Regions from separate parts of the Homo sapiens genome. Here region 2 is linked to region 1. Evidence: promoter capture Hi-C in human tissues and cell types (Jung and others, 2019). All regions are on one chromosome and are shown on one strand. The core of a region is centred on a gene start or on the middle of the fragment in contact, and the rest is flanking DNA. Distances in the headings are between cores, read along the strand shown. Region 1 holds the start of ZSWIM6 (zinc finger SWIM-type containing 6). Region 2 overlaps PART1 (prostate androgen-regulated transcript 1).

Region 1 (6,399 bases), core at 1,360-3,859:
AAATTCGCAGACTCTAGTTTGTTATACTGAGAAGCCATAGATGTGCTTCCATCCATCGCTAACCGGCAGGAAACAGACAAACAAACAAAAAAAAAGGTATAACTAGGAAGAATGTTAATTAGATTTGTTTTAAGGAAAAAAGGATAGATGAATAGCCTCAAAAGCTAAACCCCCTCTAGACAGAAGGAAAGAGTGCCCAACATAGAAAAGGCAACACTGGGGGCTGCCTTTGGAAATAAATGACCATGCAGAAAACCACGTTTGCAGATGGCATTAGAATTCAAATTAACCAGACAGGATTAAAACAAATCTTAATTCTTTCTTGGGGACCCTATCCAGACCCCCACCCCACTTCCAAAGAAAAGAAGGATAAAAGGAACTGACTACAGAAAGAGAAAAAGGATTAAGTTAACAATCAAAGAGATAGAGATGCGTCCAAATCTATCCCCATTCATTCGGTGCCGGGTTCACCATGCTACAATTTCAAGTACACTAACATGGGAGGGGGTCAGAAAATATGCCATTTGCAATCAGGAGAAAAAAATGGGAAGTTTCACTACAGCATTGTTCTTTTCAGTCTGGCTCAAACATTCCCATCGCTATGGCTGAAAAAGATCTGGACAGGGGAAAAAGAACATTTTAGGGGAGGGGGAACAGGAGACACTTTTAAACTAAGGTATTTGAGAAAACTCTCAGGATCTGTCAGAGAAAGGAAGGCTGTGCAGCTCTAAATCACAAGTCCTTCTCTCGCCTTTGTCAAATATATTCTACTTTACAAGCCCTGAAAAGAAAGAGACTCTTTTGTTTGGTTTCTCCTTTTCGGAGGGTGACAGAAAACTGAAAGGGGCACAAAAAAACCTGAAAATGAGAACAAAGTGCTGGGTCGTGCCGGGCTGCCGCGCCGCGGGGACGCGGGAGCGGCCGCCGAGCCCTCTGCCTCGCGCTCCTGCAGCCCGCTCGCCCCTTTGGCTGCGAGCGGCAAATCCGCAACTGCCGACCGCGGCTCGCCCGGGGCACCACGACCTGACCACACAGCGCAAACAAAACTCGGGCGGCGGGGCACAAGGGCTGCGCCGCGGCCCGCACAGGGGTGTCTGGAGGCAGCTTCAGAGAAAAGGGAAGCGCTAGCAGCTCCTCCTCAGGCTCGCGCCCTTTAATTAGTAAGCGTCCTACGGGCGAGATGTCCCTCCGGAGACGGAGTCCGGTCCGCCGCCACCTCTCCTCTGCGCCGCTTGGAGACTGAGGAGGCGCAAAGAAAACGACATTTAAACCCCGGGCGGCCAGTGGAGCTCGCCCGGGCCAGACGCCACAGCGACCCGGGAGCGCCGCGGCCGCTCGCCCGTCGGAGCCCTGGGAGGAGCGGCGGCCGAGCGGCTTTAAGTGTATTCCCCTCCCCTCAAATCGCGTGGGGCGGGGGCCAGAAAGAAAAAGGAGCGAGCGACAGGCAGTGGGAGAGGGGGGGAGCGCCGAGCGGCCGGGCCGCGGCCGGCATTGTCTGCGGCCCGCGCCCCCTCCCCCGCCCCGCACAGCCCCGCCACACACACCCTCGCCGGAGGCCGGCCGTCCGCCCGCGCCTTTGTCCACATCCACCCCCGAAACCGGCGAACAGCCCTCCAGGATGTGCTCCCCGGAGGAGGGCGGGTAGGGGAGCGCGGGCCGGGGGCGCGGAGCCCACGGAGGGGCGCGTCCTGCTGATTCATTTCCCACTCGCGCTGGCCCGTCCGGGGCGACGGGGGGCAGGGAAGGGAGGGAGGAAATGGGCGCTCCGCTCAGGAGGACCGTCCGGGCCAGTGAGGACACCCGCAGGGGTGCGGGCGCGCGCGGAACTAGGGGCTGTCCGCAGGAGAAAGGCGGGCACCCCCCCCCCACCCAGGGACTGACGGACGGACAGACGGCTCGCGGCTGCCCCGTGACTCACCGACTTGCAGGACGTTGTCTACGCAGCCGCTTTCCAACAGCGCGATGCCCCGGCGGAAAGGCAGCCGCGTCTCGTCGCCGCCGTCCGCCGCCCCGGCAGCCCCCACCGACGGGGCCCCGGCCCCCGCGGCGGCGGCGGCGGCGGCGGCGGCGGCGGCAGCGGCGGCGGCGGCCGAGGTTGCGGCCGCCGAGGTTGCGGCCGGGGAAGACGAGGAGCCGCCGCCGCCGCCGCCGCCCGCGCCGCCGCCGCCACCGCTGTCGTCGCCGGGGCCGCCCGCGGCGCCGCCGCCGGTGTTGAAGGACGAGTACATGCAGATCTCCCGCTCGCTGCGGGGGAAGGACCAATAGACTATGCGGCGCTGCACCGGCTCCGGGATGCGCTCAAAGCGCTCCTCCACGCGCTGGAACGGCCACTTCTCCGCCACCCTGCGCGCCGCGATGTCCAGCAGCGACTCGGGGCTCTGGGTCTTGCCCGGCGGCAGCAACCCCAGCGCCGCGCCGCCCCCGCACGCCGCCGCCGCCGCCGCGCCACCCGCCCGCGGGCCTGGCCGACAGGCAGAGCTGTAGCCGCCACCCGCGCCGCCGCCGCCGCCGCTGCTGCCCCCGCCGCCGCCGCCGCCGCCCGGCCGGCAGCAAAGCCGTTTCGCGGGAGGAGGCTGCTGTCCGCGCTCCGCCATGACCGCGCCGCTTCTAACCCGACAGCGGAAGTGCCGGGACCCTATAAACGGCACTAGGAAGCGCGACACGCACACGCCGTCGCGACGCCACGATGCCATCTAGGGCCCGCCGCTCCTTGTATGGGCACAAGAGGTGGGGCCTCCGCTGTGACGCAGAAGCTGGGGCGGGGCTCTGATAGGGGGAACCTAGGGCCGGGGGCGGGGCCTATGCAAATCGCTGGGCTGAAACATAAATAGAGCGCTTGGCGGACACGGGGGTGGCGGGGGCGGGCCGTTTTGGTGCCCGGTGGGTTGTGAGAATGTCAGGCTGCTGTGACGCGGGGGAGGGCGGGGTCAGGCGGGGTTCCCGTGGGAGGGGGCGGGCCGCCGGGCCGGGCCTGAGGTGGGTGGGTCTCTGCGCCCCCTGCCTACCCCACTTCCCCCTCCAGTTCTCAGCTTCTCTTTGAAGTCCGAGAAGTGAGGATGCGCCTCGTGGGTCGCAGCGGGGGAGGAAAGGGGAGAAGAGGGGGTGAGCGAAGGGGAGGGTTCTGAGCTAAATGGAGGGCGGGGCCCACGGGCCGATGCCCCACCCCCCCCGTCCCCCTGCCCTTCGGGGGAAAAGCCTCTGGGCGGAGGAGGCGCTTTCAAAACAAAGAAATGCGGCATGGACCCCGGGGGACGCGGGTGGAGAGGAAGGCGGAGGAGGCGCGGCCAAACCCGAGCGCCTGCCAGCTTCCCCTCCAGCCGGTCCAGGGGAGCTCTCCCCACCACCCGCCGAAGCTGCAGCGGGGAAGGGGGAGGATGGCTGCGTTCGGCGGCGGCTTTCCACTTCACTTTTGCAGACCTGGTGTGGAAGGAGCGCGCCCGCTCTGCTAACCCCGCGTGGCTGCAGTGCGCCCATCCCCGAGCCCCGCGTCCGTTCTGTCTCGGCTGCAGGGCTGTGCCCGAAAACACGCAGAGCGCTCGGAACGTGCCCAGCAGCCGCGCGACCCGCGTCCGGTGCCGGCTGCCACCGTCCCGCCCTCGCTGCCTCAGCCCCTCGGGCCAGGAAACCGACCCGCCCGCTAGAAGTCGAGGAGCTCCGGCCGCCCTTGTCGCCCCCGCGGCCGCGCGGACAAGGCCCCGCTCCAGGCCGGGGTTTCTCCAGCTCGGGGTGGAACGCAGCCCGGGCTGTGGGGTTAGCAGACACACCTTTGTGAGTACACACGCCGCAGGGCGCGCGCAAGCCCCACGGGCTCGCGCACACATCGCCCAGCAGGCGGCAGACGGCGTGCCAGGCGGCGGACGGCGGCTTCGGGCGCACTTGGGTCTGCGGCCCGGCTCCCACCCCGGCACCCGGGTGCGCGGCGCCCGGCTGCGCGGAGTCCAGGCGCTCGGGACGCGCGCCGCGCTCTCAGTCGCCTTGGCGGCGCCCGCAGGGCCAGTCCCCTCGGGTCCGGGCAGTGTAGGGGTGGACCAGGGAGAGCGAGTGCAGAGTGCAGCTCGCTGGTGCCTGGACGCGGGCGAAGGCGGAGAAGCGAGTCCCTCTCTGAACCTGGAGCCCTGCGGACATTGTTCGCGCTCCACAGAGCTCGGTCAAATCTGCTTCCAAGCCGCAGACTTAATTACCGCGTCGGAGACAGGCTTCCTCCCAGCCCCACCTTCTGTTTTTACTGTAAACAGTGGTGCTGATCCGCTCCCATTGTTGGAGATAAACTGTATCTCCTTTGACACTTTCGCATCTTTTAAGGTTATTGGCTGCTCCCCACCCGCCTGCCTTGCAGCCTGGATTTAAAGGGATAGCGCGCTTCGGCGTTTTAAAGAAAATCGCCCATTCGGGGCCGAGGCCCTGGAAACCTCGAGCTACACAGTGGGCCTTCACAAGTCCCAGGCTGCAGGTCCCTGGGGTCGGGACGCTGGCCGACTTTCCGCAGCTGCCTTACTTGTTAGGAAAATTTTTGTGGCATTATGTTTTTGTATATCCGTCCAGTATTTTTCTGGGCACTTCCTCCATGTCTAGGAAAAAGCCTGTGCGGAAAACTGGAGGATCTTTATGGGCAAGTAGAGGGAGAAGTCTCTTTCAGGGGTTTCATTTCTAGATCTCTTTAAAAATAAGAATAATCTTATAATTGTGTAAAACATAGGTATAGAAGACAGTAAGTTTAAAAGTAAAACACAAGTTGGGCTCTATTCTCTTCAGAAGTTCATGATACGACTTAGGCTTGTATAATGTGTAGATTAGCAAGCATTTTCACACATAAACACATAGAATCACTGAACTGGAAAGTCAGCGATGACAAAACTGGTGCCCCCAGACAGGATAAATGACTCATTCAGGGTCATAGGGGTTGTTAGTAGAAGAGATTAATTCACATTGAACAGGGAAGTAGGTACCTTTGGAGGTGCCTAACTTTTAGAGCTTTCGTTATTATAACGAGCAAGAGACTGGATTTAAGGCACCGTCGTTTGCTGGAGGGATCTATTATAAGCTCTCTAATTCAGAGACAAATGAGGGGCCACCAGTTCAGCCTGACCCAGCCGGCCCTCCCTGCACTCTCTGGCGCTGATTACTGACCTCCTCTTGAACTGGGCCCCTCTCTGAGTTTCCCGGAATTCTGCCATCCCTCCAGTGTCTCCAACTCCTCTTTTCCCTCTTTTTTGTTTATCTTCCTTCAAACTGTTTAATGTATACCCTGCCCTGCAGCCTATCACGGTCCTCTTCATTTTGCTTGATCCACCACTTGGAGAGTTTCCACCACCCACCCTATAACCGTTTCCTAAAGTATCATCTCCCTCTCTGGCTCACGTATTTCTTCCTGGTGGCCAGCTCACTTTTCCATCACCACCAGGATGCCCACGGCCACCTCAAACCCAAAGAACCACCTTTCCCTAGAATCCAGGTTCTCTTCTTTCGTTATATTTTTGATACTGTTGCCACCTGTTCCCAGGGCCCCAAGCTTTTTCCTCTGCCTTTGCCTCTTTCCTGTAACTCCCACAGTTGACTTGTATTGTCTATCCCAGCCCCTCTGGCTGCTCACAGTCAATTATTCCTCCTCTTCACTCTGCAGGAGCCTCCTCCCTGGTGTGTCTGTATAGCCTTTCCTCCTCCAAATCATCCTCCACCCAGCTGCTGTGCTTCCTAAAGTACATTTCGGATTGTGTCACCCTCCTGCTTAAGTCCCTGTAAATGGCTCTCTGCTGCCTACTGGGAGAAATCCAAACTCAGATCTGATCTTGACCAAACCCAACTTTTCAGCCTTGCCTCCCACTAAAACCCAACAGAACGTTTCCCAGTTCCCCAGCAGGAATTCTGTTATGTCCCAACAGGACTTCTCCACCCCACACATTTGCTCAAGATGTTCCTGCTGCCTGAAATGTCTCTCCCTTCCCTTGCAACTTGTCAAATTCCTACCCTTCCTACAAGGATTTGCTCAAATGCCACTTCCTCTGGGAAAACCCACCTGGCTGTGTGATCTCTCTCTCCTCAAGCCCCTTTAACACTTTGGATCGTTCTTGTGACATTTATACCATTCTGCCTAGCATCAGAGTTATGTTTACACTTGCCTAAGCCATTGTCCTTTCTCTTTCTCTCTCTCTCTCTCTTTTCCTCTTCCTCTCTTCCCTGGTTAGAAATTCTCTGACAGTTGGGTATATGCCTTGTCCATTTCTGTAGTCCCTGAATGCCCAGCATTGTCCTGCAAGGTTTCTGTCTCCCCAGAGGTTAGCTACACCCAGGAGCCAAGGGAGAAGTGAGTGATGGTGTGTCATCTTTGGCTAGTGCTTCTGCCATCTCTCATTTTTTTGAGTAATTATAGTGTTTTTCCTGGTGTTCATAGAAATCATTACT
Region 2 (6,399 bases), core at 2,651-5,150, 800 kb after region 1:
TACACACATAAACAACAATTGGTGCTAAGATATGCAAGAAAGGACTGTATGCCCAGAGAAGCTAATTCTACAGATTATATGGAAAAATGAAAAAAGCAAGAATAGCTAGGAAACATCTTGAATCAGAATAGTAATGAGAAGCATGAATGCTCTGATGAACACATATTATAGAGTTATAATCGTTACAGCACTATGGTAGTGGTGCACAGATAGCTACATCAATGGAACAGAGGAGAAAATTCATTTTTTTTTGCAGATCACAGTAAAAAATAGCTTGAAAAACCACTTTCCTATGTATGTCATATGTAAATTTTACATAAAAATACATGCACGTATATACTTGCATATACATAGAACAGCTTTGGAAGTATATTCAAGAAATGTAACAGTTGTTGGGTGATGGGGTAGGAAGTAGTGTTATGTTTCACTATATTTTTTGTGTACCTTTGAATTTTGCACTATTTGTGGTATTATTTCTTTAAAAAGGCAATTTATTTTATTATTTTTTTCAAACCCAGCACAGAATATTAACAAAGTAGATAATACATAGGATGGATATGGAATGATTTGCTTGGATCACTCCAAGCAAGGCATCTGAACTATTCACATGGTTGTGTTTGGAAGCTCCCAGGGTCTAAACACTGTAAGATTTCGGAGATTTATACCAGATCAGACTCACAAACATTTGATTTTCCTCATTTTTCAAGATTTTTTCCCCTCTGGCCTTTCATTTATTCATTTAGTCTTCAGTAGAGAGACCAGGGGATGGCTTGGATTTAGGGGCTTAACCACCTCCATCTTCATCAGCTCCATTCAGCTGAAGCTGTTGCTGTTCTTCTGAAAAGATCCCAGGAGCTTCCCAATACATATGCAATCTCTGTAAAAGCAGTGTGTTTGCAAACACAGCTGCAAGAAAAGCCTCCTACAGCAAGTATATAAAAAGGTGCTCAATATCACTAATCAGGCAGATGCAAATCAAAACCACAGTATTACCTCACACCTGTGAGAATGACTATTATAAAAAACACAAGAGATAACAAGTGTTAGCCAGAATATGCATAAAAGGGAACCTTGTATACTGTTGGTGGGAATACAGAGGCCATTGTGGAAAATAATATGGAGGTTCTACAAAAAATTAAAAATAAAATTCTTATATGAGCCAGCAATCCTGTTTCTTAGTGTAGATCCAAAGAAAATGAAATCACCTCATAGAGATATCTGTGCCCCCATGTTTCAAAGCATTATTCACAATAGCCAAGATATGGAAACAACCTTTGGCTGTCAATAGATGAATGGATAAAGAAATTGTGTGTGTGTGTGTGTGTGTGTGTGTGTGTGTACACACATACACAATGGAATATTATTCAGTCTTAAAAAAGGACATCCTGCCATTTGTGTCAACATGAATGGACCAAGAGGAAAATTATAATATGTGAAATAAGCCAGACACAGAAAGAAAAATACTACATGGTCTCACTTATATGCGAAATTAAAAAAAAAAAGAAACAAAATTCAAAGATGTAGAAACAGAGTAAAAAGGTGGTTACCAGGGGTAGGAAAAGTGGGGGAGTGGGGAGATGGAGGTCAAAGGGTATAAAGTTTCATTTATGTAGAATAAATAAGCCTAGAGATCTAATGTATAGCATGAAGACTGTAGTTAATAATATTTTATTTCATAAGGGAATTTGCTAACAGAGTGGATTTTAGGTAATTCTACTACACACACACACACGCACACAGAAAAGGTAACTGTGTAACATGATAGATATGCTAATTTGCTTGATGTGGTAATCATGTCATTATGCATATTGTTAAATAAAATTTATGGAAGCTCTCATTCTAGATCCCAACAAACCAAAGCAAAATGGAGTCCCACACGCTAAGTGCCACATGATTAAACTGAAATTTTAAGAAAGCAGGTAAATTTCCAAACAGACCAGATATTTTTGAAAACAGAAGATTCACAGAAACCAATTAGAAAGGGCCCAGTCAGCCTAAGTCAGTATAATAAGGAAATCTCCACAGTTTTAACCCTTATAAGAAAAGTAACCTGAAGTAATCTGATGTTAACCGATCTGCCTTTTTCTATTATTCTGTTTCCTTGTTCCCACTTTACAAAAACCAATTGTTCTGCCATGCCCAGTGGAGCATTCATTCTATTTATAGAATACAATACTGCTGAATTCTAGAATCACAAATAGAAGCCAATTAGATCTTAAAACTAAATTTGTTATAGTTTTGCCTTTTGACAATATGTATATCAAAACATCGTGTTAGGTATTGTCTTAGTCTGTTTTCTGTTGCTATAACAGAATACCACAAACGGCAATTTATACAGAAAGAAGTTTATTTGGCTTACAGTTCTGGAGGCTGGGAAGTCCGAGAGCATGGTGCCACCATCTGGTGAGGGTCCTTCATAGTGAAAGGGTGGAAGGTGGAAGTGAACACTAGAAACAGAGAGCAAATGGAGGCTGAACTTATCCTTTTATCAGGAACCCACTCATGGGGCTCTGCCCTCGTGATCTAATCACCTCTTAAAGGGCCCACCTCCCAATACCATTACATTAGCAATTAAATTTCCACATGAGTTTTGAAGGGGGCATTCAAATCATATCAAGAAAAAAAAAAGTCAAGTCCCCTAGGCTTCTCTTCTAGGTAGATTCCTGCTTCAGTCCCTTCCTATATAGAAACTCTGGAGTTTCCCCTACCTCATACTATTGCCTGTTTTCCATGGCTCCAAGAGAAAAGGAATATTCTCTTTTCTTCTGAAAAAGCACTACAGTTTATTGGTCAGCACCAAGTGTGTTTAACTTCAGTTTCAGATGGCAACTCACACATAGATGTGTTTATGTTGCCCTTTATCAGTATTATCATTGGCAAAGCCTTTGGTAAGCAACAGAAGTGGCTAAACAGAATAATTCCAGGCTTGAAGTTCCTTTTTCATCTGGTTCCCTCTGGGAAAAGGCTATGAAAGCTAAGGGTGGTGGCCAAGTCCCAAAGGCCAAGGTCACCATCAAACATTTTCTGAGAATCTACCAAAAACACAGGTCTGTATTAGGTCAATATGCACACAGTTGTGCTGGGAAGGAATGAAGCTTTCAAATATGAGAACTGTACCTGAAAAATCTTTGCCATCAGTTCTTTGAAATGAAACTCTAAGCTGGGAAGAACTCTCTGCTTAGGGGAAGTAGGACTAAAACTTGACTTTTGATTTGGAGAACATTCAAAAGACTCTAAGCTCATGAGTGCTCAACTTGTAATTTTTTGCCCTTGAAAAAACTATAGGCGGGTGCAGTTACACCTGTAATCCCAGCACTTTGGGAGGCCAAGGTGGGTGGATCACTTGAGCCCAGGAATTCAAGATCAGCCTGGGCAACATGGCGAAACCCCGTCTCCACTAAAAATACAAAAATTAGCCAGGTGTGGTGATGCATTCCTGCATGCCAGCTACTCGGGAGGCTCAGGTGAGGGGATTGATTGAGGCTGGGAGATTGAGGCTACAGTGATCCGTGATGGCACCACTGTACTCCAACCTGGACAACACAAAGACCCTATCTCAGAAACAACAACAACAACAAAGAAGCAACAAAAGGGAATTTGTACTTTTAGCCATAGAGCCTTCAAGTTTGTTATAACCACTGGGGAGAAAACCCTTCATTTCTACTTCATTCCTAAAATGGGTTAATCACTGATTATACATAGAAAATTTACTCAAATGAAAACAAACCACCACCAGATTTTACCTTTAAATATATTTTCTTGGTATTATTTTAGGTTCTGGTAGCAAAAGGTGCAGAGATAAGGACATGGGTTAATGACATGGGTTATTTATTGCACTCTGCATACAGCAGCAAGAATGCTTTTCCTAAAAATTCTTTTTGCTGAAGTCCCTTTTTTGCTTATGTCTCTTTTCCTAAAAAATCTTTTTGCTTAAGTCCCTTTGTTGCTGCCCACATCATTTGATTTCCCACAGCAAATTATTATAAGCCTGCATTATCCTGTTTCTCCTCCTCCTCTGAATCTTCCTCTCCATCAGCACGATTTCTGTTTTCTTTCTTTGCCAACTAGCTGTGTGGCTAAGAGTAAGTCACTGGAGTCTCACTGTCCCTTTGTCTGTAAAACTATGGTTTTGGAATAAGAAGGGTCCTGGCCTGCTATGGGGTGTATCAGAGTCAGGGTGAAAGGGTCTTAAGGTATTTGAAAATAAAGCAGCAGATAAGCTTGACATGGAGAGTAGCCTACCTCTGGCTCTGTTTTCTCCATTTCCTTAGGAGTGAAAAGCTGGCCGTCAGCAAGCAGATTCAGTGCTCACATTGTAGCCACATAATCAAAGGAAGAAATACATATCTTTTTTTTTTTGAGATGGAGTCTCACACTGTCACCCAGGCTGGAGTGCAATGGCACAATCTCGGCTTATTGCAAGCTCCGCCTCCTGGGTTCATGCTATTCTCCTGCCTCAGCCTCCCGAGTAGCCAGGACTACAGGCGCCTGCCCCCACTCCGGGCTAATTTTTTTTTTTTTTTTTGTATTTTTACTAGAGGCGGGGTTTCACCGTGTTAGCCAGGATGGTCTCAATCTCCTGACCTCGTGATCTGCCCGCCTCAGCCTCCCAAAGTGCTGGGATTACAGGCGTGAGCCACCATGCCTGGCTGAAATACGTATCTTTTAAGATCTAAAGAAAATCGTTTTAAAGTTACTGTTGTGTCCATCTTGTTTTCTTGTTACTGAACTTATTTCAAAAATTTAAATAACATTAAAGGAAGGTATAAGATTTTTATGGCTATCCAAAAGCTGCATTAAAAAAAACTTAAGGATTTCCAAGTCAATTTCCGGCTGTGAAAATCACACTGTGTCCTGAGTTGGTGGGTTCTTGGTCTTACTGATTTCAAGAATGAAGCCGCAGACCCTCTCAGTGAATGTTACAGTTCTTAAAGCCAGCGTGTCTGGAGTTTGTTCCTTCTGATGTTTGGATGTGTTCGGAGTTTCTTTCTTCTGGTGGGTTCACGGTCTCGCTGGCTCAGGAATGAAGCTGCAAACCTTCGCAGTGAGTGTTACAGCTCTTAAGGCCACATGTCGGGAGTTGTTCGTTCCTCCCGGCGGGTTCGCGGTTTTGCTAGCTTCAGGGGTGAAGCTGCAGACCTTCATAGTGAGTGTTACAGCTCATAAAGGCAGTGTGGACCCAAAGAGTGAGCAACAACAAGATTTATTGCAAAGAGTGAAAGAACAAAGCTACCACAGCATGAAAGGGAACCTCAGCAGGTTCCCACTGCTGGCTTGGGCAGCCTGCTTTTATTCTCTTATCTGGCCCCACCCACGTCCTGCTGATTGGTCCATTTTAAAGAGAGCCGATTGGTCTGTTTTACAGAGAGCTGATTGGTCTGTTTTGACAGGGTGCTGATTGGTGCGTTTACAATCCCCGAGCTAGACACAAAAGTTCTCTACCTCCCCACCAGATTAGCTAGATAACAGCATCCATTGGTGTATTTACAAACCCTGAGCTAGACACAGAGTGCTGATTGGTATGTTTACAAACCTTGAGCTAGATACAGAGTGCTGATTGGTGTATTTACAATCCCTTAGCTAGACATAAAGATTCTCCAAGTACCCACCAGACTCAGGAGCCCAGCTGGCTTCACCCAGTGGATCCCGCACGGGGGCCGCAGGTGGAGCTGCCTGCCAGTCCTGCGCTGTGTGCCCGCACACCTCAGCCTTTGGGCGGTCGATGGGACTGGGCGCCATGTAGCAGGGAGTGGCGCTCCTCGTGGAGGCTCCGGCGCGCAGGAGCCCATGGCAGGGGCGGGCGGGCGGGGGTGGGAGGAGGGGAGGCTCAGGCATGGCAGGCTGCAGGTCCCGAGCCCTGCCCTGCGGGGAGGCAGCTAAGGCCTGGTGAGAAATTGAGCACAGCAGCTGCTGGCCCAGGTGCTAAACCCCTCACTTCCTGGGCCTTGTGGGCAGAGCCTGCTGAGCCCACGCCCACCCAGAACTCATGCCCAGCCCAGAACTCGGGCCCACCCAGAACAAGCGCCGTGCCCAGCCCTGGTTCCCGCCAGCGCCTCTCCCTCCACACCTCCCTGCAAGCTGAGGGAGCTGGCTCCGACCTTGGCCAGCCCAGAAAGGGGCTCCCACAGTGCAGTGGCGGGCTGAAGGGCTCCTCAAGCACGGCCAGAGTGGGCGCCAAGGCCGAGGAGGCACCGAGAGTGAGCGAGGGCTGCAAGGGCTGCCAGCACGCTGTCACCTCTCAATACGATCTGTGAACATGTGCCCTTTCTCAGTTCAGAAAGCCATTTAGAGCAAATGTACTTATTTACTTTATCCAGGCTCTGCTTACTCCTCTCCTCTCCACAGCCATCTCCTCCATTAGAAATGCTTTTCCCTGCCATTTTTGACAGACCCTGAGCC

The links. Contacts are between HindIII fragments. The study calls those that stand out against the background at their distance.
Region 2: a contact is called between a fragment that was not itself captured here and the fragment with the promoter of ZSWIM6 in region 1, in 1 of the 25 tissues and cell types used here (lymphoblastoid cells).

What each region holds. Positions count from the first base shown.
Region 1 is chr5:61,328,468-61,334,866 of GRCh38, reverse strand. ZSWIM6 (zinc finger SWIM-type containing 6) reads right to left here and starts at 2,609. Exons shown (of 14, transcript NM_020928.2): 1 at 1,919-2,609. The coding sequence starts at 2,594. LOC105378994 (a long non-coding RNA gene) reads left to right here and starts at 2,651. Exons shown (of 2, transcript XR_007058781.1): 1 at 2,651-2,727. RefSeq lists silencers at 1,715-1,824, 2,605-2,744, 2,855-3,254, 3,465-3,534, 3,565-4,144 and 2 more and an enhancer at 3,949-4,519. The HindIII fragment of the contact is 12,801 bases long and covers 1-6,399 here.
Region 2 is chr5:60,529,980-60,536,378 of GRCh38, reverse strand. PART1 (prostate androgen-regulated transcript 1) reads right to left here. Exons shown (of 4, transcript NR_024617.1): 3 at 2,360-2,447. Among named protein-coding and RNA genes, the nearest start is that of PART1, 45 kb to the right of the region's middle. The HindIII fragment of the contact is 5,395 bases long and covers 1,203-6,399 here.